Regions from separate parts of the Homo sapiens genome. Here all the other regions are linked to region 2. The links are contacts of gene promoters, found by promoter capture Hi-C in blood cells and fetal thymus (Javierre and others, 2016). All regions are on one chromosome and are shown on one strand. Each heading gives the region's core, a stretch centred on a gene start or on the middle of the fragment in contact. The rest is flanking DNA. Distances are from core to core; before and after follow the strand shown. Region 1 overlaps TUBA1C (tubulin alpha 1c). Region 2 holds the start of FAM186B (family with sequence similarity 186 member B). Region 3 has its middle 4.6 kb from the start of DNAJC22.

Region 1 (2,873 bases), core at 239-2,738, 330 kb before region 2:
TGCATTCCAGCCTGGGTGACGGAGACCCCTGACTCTCAAATTTAAAAACAAAATGCAGGTTCTAATTCTATAGGCTTGAGGTGAGGCTTCAGACACGTCTTAAATTTTTTTTCTTTGAGATGGTCTCTTTCCCAGGCTGCAGTGCAATGGCACCATCATAGCTCACCCCCACCTTGACCTGGGCTAAGCCATCCTCCCACCTCAGCCTCCCAAGTAGCCAGGACTACAGGTGTGTTCCACCATGCCTGGCTGATTCTTGTAATTTTTTTTTTTTTTTTTTTTTTTTTTTTTGGTAGAGATGGGGTTTTGCCATGTTGCTTAGGCTGGCCTTGAACTCCTGGGCTCAGGCAATCCTGCCTCAGCCTCCCAAAGTGCTGGGATTACAGGAGTGAGCCACTACACCTGGCCCCTAGATACGTTTTTTAATAACCTCCCAAATGATGCTGTTGGTCTGATGTGACCACATGTACAGTAGCAAAGGGTTAGATAACAGTAACTGCTGGAGCCAAAATTCAAGTGCCCAGCCACACTGCCAGAACTATTGCTGTCAGTCTTTAATAAAGTATTAGTCACACGAGAAGGGCTTGGAATCCTGATTTATTCCATACTTAGCTAAGACCTACAGTGGCAAAGATGGTTCGTACTAAAGGGGTTATTGTTTAGAGAAAGTGGAAATGTCAGACAAAATAACAGTCACCGGTTTTTCTGGTATTGGCATTTGACCCAATTGTATGTCATGGAGATTATTTGAAGTAGGAGTAATATGTATGTGTAGGAAAGATTGGAGAGGGGTGAGTTCTCTGATTTGGACTTTTTTCCAAGCACCTGTTGGAGGACCGTGGTTCTTGGGGGCAGACGGGTGAAGGGGCATGAGTGTTATACGTAGCTGGAGAGCTTGGTGCCTGGTACTCAGTTGAACTAAGCAATGGGAAAGGACAATGACCAAAAGGTGAAGCTTCATGCAGAAGGGAGGAATCAGTTTTGGTGCTTGGGTGCTTGCCTGAGTGGGAATGCCTAATGAGTGGTAGCAGATGGGCCCTGGGGGCAGAGTTGCAGGCATACTCACCTCTCCTCCGTGACTTACTTTATTCTGATGTGTACCCAGTTACCATCTCTTTCCCAAAGGTGTTTTGTATCCCTTACCCATTGCTCACTTTAGCCCCTTTGCTCTGAGAATTGCATCTGAAAGATGTGCATGTTTAAGGCCAGCGCTGGGGTTCACAGCTGCAGTCCCAGCACTCTGGGAGGCCAAGGTGAGAGGATTGCTTAAACCCAAGAGTCTGAGACCAGTGCCTGGGCAAGAGGGTGAGACCCTGTCTATTTTGAGCATTTTTTTGGCCGGGTACCATGGCTCACGCCTGTAATCCCGGCACTTTGGGAGGCTGAAGCAGGTGGATCACTTGAGCTTAGGAGTTCAAGACCAGCCTGGGCAATATGGTGAAACCCCATCTCTACTAAAAATACAAACAATTAGCTGGGCATGGTGGTGCACGTCTGTGGTCCCAGCTGCTTGAGAGGCTGAAGTGGGAGGATTGCTTGAGCCTGGGAGGTGGAGGTAGCAGTGAGCTGAGATCGTGCCACTGCCCTCCAGCCTAAGGGACAAAAAATTTTTTTCCCTTAAATTTTTTTTTATGTCTCAAATTTTTTTAAATGTATATATTATACCTGCGTGCATAGCACAGCATGCTTTTGCAGCCTGAGATGCCTCAACTATGTGCTCTGGATGGTTTTATATAGCATTTGTCGAGAGCAACCATAGTTTTATGTCCTTCGGGGCAAGGTAAGACCCCAGCACAAATTCAGCCACTGCTACTTCTCAGATGAGCCAGGTTCTTCCTGCAGCCTGGGCAGGGGAGCGGGGTGGGATGCCTGAAATGAAGGTGAACCTTGAAGACGCTGGCTAGCCTGCCAGAGGGGATTTTGAGACCTTCCCAGGCCAGGAGATCTGCTGATTGCCATAGTGCAAGCACTGGAGGAAATGGGAATGGGACACCCGTGTATGAAAAGGAGCAGATAAATCACAAAGCTTAGGCGAGTGTGACACCCCATGACACCAGCATTTCCCAAGCAGGGTGCCCTGAGAATAGGATTCAGGGTGCCCATATAGGATCCCTTCGGCTTTTAGAATGACATGGTGGAAACTGGAGAGCCTGACTCACCCATCCTCCCTGGGGCCAGTCACCCTGGCCAGGAGTAGCCCCCTCCATTTACCTCTGTACACCTTACAGATGAATTATTTTCTACATGTGCCAAGATGTGAAAAAGGTTGGAAAGCTTTAAGCAGCCACAGAGGTCTGGGGTGAAAGAAGGTGAGAGAAAAGTTTAGCTGAGAAGAAATATTCCAGTAGAATAAAGCCTGGGGAATTGGAAGAGCAAAGTGCCAGTGGTTGGGGGGGCATTTGTCCTTGTAAAGATGATTTCCCCCTCCTGCGTTGGAGGGAGAGTGAATAGAAGTTAGCCTGCAGCAAGAACAAATATACCCCAAGGTCTAGGTCACTGCTTTGTGGCTGACAATCATCTGATCTGCCCTTGAGCACGAATGGAAAGTCTGGACCCAGAGCTGCGACTGATGCTGATGCTGAGGCCGCTGAAGCTTGATGGGAATAAATGCACACAGCCTAAGAGGATTCGGGCTCCTGAGGCTGGCGGCAGCCCCAGGTCCGGCTGTGTGGACAGAGGGCTTAGTCTGCCCTCACCTAACCTGGCCAGAGGAGCAACCTGCTTCCCCCCACAGAGGCCGCTGACCACTGAGAGGTTAGCATGTCTGGGCAGAGGTGTTTTGGGCAGGGATGAGAAGGGGGATAATGACTTTGAGGGGCTAAGGGCCTGCCTGTCCACCTGTCATTCTGTGTTTGGGAAGCAGCTGGCAAGTG
Region 2 (2,700 bases), core at 89-2,588:
CTGCAAACTCACCCCAGTCACCCAGCCAGCGGAGAATGTCATACAGGTGCTTCTCCTTCATCATAGCATCTTTGGAGAAGGAGGCAATTTTTTCCAGCAAGATGAATCTCTTCTTGCCCTTTGGATCTCTCTGCTGAGATTTGGCATTTTCTTTTAAATCATATCCTAATTCTTCCTGGAAGCGGTTGATGACACAATTGACATTGTCCAAAATGTCTGAGAGCTGGGTAGAAATATCCTATAGAGAAGCAGCAGATTGTAGTGTTAGGGCTGTGGACTTGAGCCAGAAGCCACATGCTAGCAGCGTGACCTTGGACAAGTCGCTTAGCCTCTTTGGGTCTCAGTTTTCTTATATTTAAAGTGGGAATCATTATAGTACCTATGTCACAGGGTTTCTGTAAGGATTAAATGAATTAAATATTTTAAAGTGCTTTTAATAGTACCTGGCACATTACACAAAAGTGGTAGCTTTTATTATCATTGTGATTATTAAGAAGGTCAAGAAAGTATAGAACACCAAAACCCCACAGCAAACATTTCTTTAGAATTTCAGAGGTTGCTGGGGGTTTCTGGATGTCTTTCCTCACAAGGATCCACAGGCAACAGAAGCTTGGAAAAGTGAGGCCCCAAGAAACTCTAGGATCAGAGGCTCAAGTAAAAAATGTACTAGAGCCTCGTGTACAGGGTGATTTGAGCCTTTGGACATTTCCCCAACCCCTATGAACTTCCTGGGCTCAGCTTGGGGGATTCTGGAGGGTTGCCAAGAACAGATTCTGGGTCCTTTCTCCTGCCCTCTAAAACCCACCACACCACCACGATGTGCCTCAGGGCTATCCTCGAGCTTCCTGCCCCCTTCCCGGGCCCCAGCCCTGCCTCAGGCGGGTGGTTGCTTTCAGCTCACCCTGTATATGCCAAGTTTAGGAGAGAGATAATTTATACTAATCTGTCTGCAGACCCAGGTTGCTGAATATCCCAGGGCCTCTGAGGACCCAGAGCTGGAATCTCACTCAAACCTGGGATCAGCCCCCAGTCTCCGCATCAGATCCCAATGTAAGAGTGATTCCTTCATCTCAGGGGCTACCTCTTGAGCCCGAGTTAGCTGGGCAGCCTCAATCCTCAGGATGATGGCTTTCACTGATGTGGGAGTCACCAACTGTGGGGGGTCATCCTTCTCCATTTTGGATCACTCTGTCAGTCACAAAACATCCTGTGTTTCTGGTCCACAGGCCTGGACACACAATGTTGCCTGCTTTGGAGGTTAAGGGCACCAGGGTGTCTCCTGGGTACCCTCTGCCCAGGCACAGCTCCTCTGGTAACTGCCAAACACCAGGTTCCAACTGATCCTCTTTTCCCCAGTGACATCATCAGTTTGATTAGAAGAATTAGGAGATGAGACTCCCCACTATCTAGCTTTTTGTCCATTACCTAACATATATTTACTTGACTTGTTGCCTTTTCTTTTTTTTTTTTTTTTTTTGAGACGGAGTCTCCCTCTGTAGCCCAGGCTGGAGTGCAGTGGTGTGATCTCGGTCACTGCAACCTCCACTTCCTGGGTTCAAGTGATTCTCCTGGCTCAGCCTCCTGAGTAGCTGGGATTACAGGTGCGTGCCACCACGCCTGGCTAATTTATTTTTTGTATTTTTAGTAAAGACGGGGTTTCACTGTGTTAGCGAGGATGGTCTCGATCTCCTGACCTCGTGATCCACCCACCTTAGCCTCCCAAAGTGCTGGGATTACAGGTGTGAGCCACCGTGCCCGGCCTACTTGTTGCTTTTTAAAAATTACTAAATGTTATGCTCCCAAACAAAACATTAATGTCTACAAATAAGAAAAAGCAATTAGCAAAAGTTATTTTCCTGAATAAAATATTTTAAATTTGTAAAAATTAGAGCCAATCAATAACCAAATGGAAGCCAGGCTCAGTGGCTCACGCCTGTAATCCCAACAATTTGGGAGGCTGAGGTGGGAGGATCACTTGAGCCCAGGAGTTTGAGACCAGCCTGGGCAACATGGTGAGAGCCTAGCTCTACAAAAAAATTTAAAAAATAGCCAGGCATGGTGGCGCATGCCTGGGATCCCAACTACTTGAGAGGTTGAGATGGGAGGATCACTTGAGCCCAGGAGGTCAAGGCTGCAGTGAGCCATGTTCACGCCACTACACCCCAGCCTAGGTGATAGATACCCTGACACACACACACACACACACACACACACACACACACACACAAACATACAGAGGGAGGAACATCCCATAATGCTAAAGATGTCAATTAATAAGGAGAACATAATTCTAAATGTGTATATACCTAATAACATTGCTTCAAAATACATGAAGTAAAAAGCTTCCAGAACTGAAAGGAGGAATAGGTAAATCCAAAATTATAGTTGGAGATTCCAGCACTTCTCTTGCAGGAGTTGATAGAAGTAGCAAAAAATAAAAAGTATAGAGGTTTTGAAAAATACTATCAACCAACTTGACTCCATTGACAGTCATAGAACACTTCACCCAACAACAGGACACATATTATTCCCTACGCATATGGAACAATGATCATATAAACCATAATTTGGGCCATAAAACAAGTATCAATTACCCTAAGAAGTCTAAAATAATACAAAATATGTTCTCTGACCACTATGGTATTAAACTATAAATCAATAATTGAGAGATCTTTGGAAAATTCCCAAATATTTTACAAA
Region 3 (2,700 bases), core at 105-2,604, 260 kb before region 2:
CAAATGGCACCCAAGGCAGTGGAAGAGTGAGAGAGGCAGGCCAGGAGTGGGCAGTGAGATTTGAATGGCTTCCGGGAGCCTTTTGTATGTGAGGCCAAAAGGGTTGGGTCTTGGCTCCGTGTATCCCCCAACCCCCACCCTGACACTGTTAAGCATGATGCCCAACAGGTGCTCAACTGTTGGCTAAAGGATGGCCAAAGTTAGTTTCAGAGAACAACCGTCCAGATGGAGGAAGAGAGGGCAGAGAAAAAGGAAGGCAAAGGAAAACGAAGCGAGTCAAGGAAAATTTGCTTAAGGGACAAAAGGGAAGCCTGAAGCCGGCTGTTCTCCGACTGCAGCTGGGAAAACCGTCCCAGCCCAAGAACCTGCTCATGGTTTGCCTCCTTGCAGAGACTACCCTCCTGCCTCTGCCATCACGGCCAGGCCCAGGGCTCCCACTCATCAGCCAGTGCCTCTGGCACCAAAACTCAGTGCAACCTTAAGTTCAAAGTATCGCACCAGGGTCCACAGGGCTGAAGACAAGCTCCTGGCTTCTCAGAGAGTGGGTAAAGACTGCTTCCAAGGTGTCTGCCAGGTCAGAGCTGTTGCTGACTTACTTCGGCAGCCCTCCACCCCTGGCCAGGTGCTGCTCCTAGCCTTTGACTCCTCCACCTCCCTTTGTGCCCCCCTCTGCCTCCACCGCTTGCCAGCTCCAGCCTCCAGTTAATGAAATGTGGGGATCGGCTGCACAGAGAGCTGTCAGACCCCTCATTTCTCCTCTGGGATATTGACTCCGGGTCTGGGAGACCCACAGGTGAAAGGAGGCGGGTGGGGTGCGGGAAGTTGAGGTAGGGGCGCATACTGATGAGAGCCCCGAGACCAGGAGGTAGTGCTAAGCTCCAAGTCTCGAGGGCTCGGCTAAGCGAGGAAGGCCCTAGGATGCTCTTTCTGCTTGGGGTCCCCAGCTTTTCTCTGACGAGCAGGACACTTAACGAGCCCCAACCCACCGCACCCGGACCTGGACCCCGAACTAGCACCCCAGGCGGGCTGGACTTCAGTGAGCGCCGCGCGCAGCGCCTCGGAGCCAGAGACCGCTGCCCGGTGCTTCCTCCCATCTTCTTCCATCCCTTCCCTCTTGCTCCCCCTCCCTCCTGCACTCCCTCCCCGGCGGCCGCGGCCTTTATTAGGGATTCCGCGGCTGTCGGTCCCGCCATCCATCCTGTCCGCCGGCAATTAGGCGGCCAGACAAAGAGCAGCTTCGGATGGATGAGGGTCCCAGCGGATCGGAAATGTGAAGGGTCAGCGCTGCCGCCCGCGGCGCACCCCGCTCCCCCTTCCGCATAATCACCGGCCGCCCGTCACTCAGCCGGCCGCCCAGGGAGCTCCTGGGCCCGGCCCGGGAGAGGGCGGGGTGCGGCTGCAGCCTAGGCGCCCAGGACAGGGCGAGGGCGGACCTGCGGCAGGAGCGCCTCCTGCGGGGCAGTGGAGGACTGTGGCCTGAGGCATTGGCCGAAGGGTGGGGGATTATGGCCCCGGGCACTCCCCGAAGGGAAACTGGGGCTAGCGGCTTGGGGCCTCCCAGTGGGGAAGAGGGAACAAAAGCTGCGGAGACCGGAGGCCCGGGGTCCAGGGCGCCCCCTGCTGGGAAGCTGGGAACCAAGCCTTAGAGGTCCGGCAGGTACAGATGGAACCAGGCCCAGGGCGACCCCTCCTAGGGAAACCAAGGGTTTCTAGCCTGGCGCGCCTCCTGCCGGCTTTGAATGACACTGCGCTTCTATGCCCGCTCCGTTCAGTGAAATCCAACCAATCCGCATCCGCTCAAAAAAGGCTCCAAGTCCTGGCGAACCCGAGGGGAGCCGAGAGGGAGTTCAAGGAGTCCAGGTTTTACTGCAGATTCTTTGGCGCTAGCTCCCAGCTGACAAATCAACATCTCAATCTGACAATTAGTGGTCAAGATGCGGGGTGAGGGGCTCTTACAGCCCCGGCCGCTTAGCCCTCCCGGCGGGAGGCAGAGGGGTGGGCGGTGCTGGCAGTGATGAACGACTCCAGGGGGGCCCGTGGCCCCGAGCGCGCATTCATTACTCGACTGACAGGCGGGTGGCGGGCCGGGCGGGCTGCGAGTGGACGTGCCGGGAAAGAGGCCAGTAGCAGGAGGGGACTAAGGCAAGCGTTTAACAGTCCCACTGCTCCATCTGCTCCCGGTCCTTCGCCTTGACCCTGGGACTTGACTTCCTTGAGCTCGGCCTCCCAGTTGTTGGAGCTGGCCCTGGCTGGGAAGCAAGGGCGGGGACCTAAGCCCTCTTCTGGGGTTAGGTGATTTAAGGTCTGAGATGTCAAGGAAGGGTATTAGGCAGGTCTCAAGACTAGGCGATTCGGCCTGACCTCTGAGAGATTGTGCGTGACTGTGCACTCAGAGATGGCGTGTATGACAGGGATTGATGAATGTGGATCGCACGTGGGAGGTCAGTGACTGTGTGTGTCAGTACCAGGTATGTGTCAGTATGATTTTGTCAGTGGAGGTGTGAGATTCCCTCTGAGGATGAGCCACCACCCCTCCCTGTGTGTCCGTCTCCCCACTACCCCCCAGCTGGCTGTCAGCTCTGTCTCCAGTTATGGAGGAAATGGCAGTGCGCACGGTGACAGCTGAGGTGTGCTGCTGGGGTGGGGGGTGGGGGTGGTGCTAGATGTTAACTGTGAGAGTGCTGGTCAGGACAGCTGCTC

Evidence for each region. The method cuts DNA at HindIII sites, captures the fragments that hold promoters and counts their contacts. A CHiCAGO score of 5 or more calls a contact.
Region 1: a fragment that was not itself captured here is called in contact with the fragment with the promoter of FAM186B in region 2 in 1 of 17 cell types (endothelial precursors); the score reaches 7.5 in endothelial precursors.
Region 3: a fragment that was not itself captured here is called in contact with the fragment with the promoter of FAM186B in region 2 in 1 of 17 cell types (endothelial precursors); the score reaches 6.1 in endothelial precursors.

Annotation. Positions count from the first base shown.
Region 1 is chr12:49,274,024-49,276,896 of GRCh38, forward strand. TUBA1C (tubulin alpha 1c) reads left to right here. Exons shown (of 4, transcript NM_032704.5): 4 at 1-577. Among named protein-coding and RNA genes, the nearest start is that of TUBA1C, 10 kb to the left of the region's middle. RefSeq lists a silencer at 1-257. The HindIII fragment of the contact is 1,071 bases long and covers 954-2,024 here.
Region 2 is chr12:49,604,301-49,607,000 of GRCh38, forward strand. FAM186B (family with sequence similarity 186 member B) reads right to left here and starts at 1,339. Exons shown (of 7, transcript NM_032130.3): 1 at 1,082-1,339; 2 at 13-238. The coding sequence starts at 1,177. The HindIII fragment of the contact is 1,733 bases long and covers 608-2,340 here.
Region 3 is chr12:49,340,982-49,343,681 of GRCh38, forward strand. No RefSeq gene overlaps it. Among named protein-coding and RNA genes, the nearest start is that of DNAJC22, 4.6 kb to the right of the region's middle. RefSeq lists a silencer at 1,248-1,387 and an enhancer at 1,589-2,100. The HindIII fragment of the contact is 8,852 bases long and covers 1-2,700 here.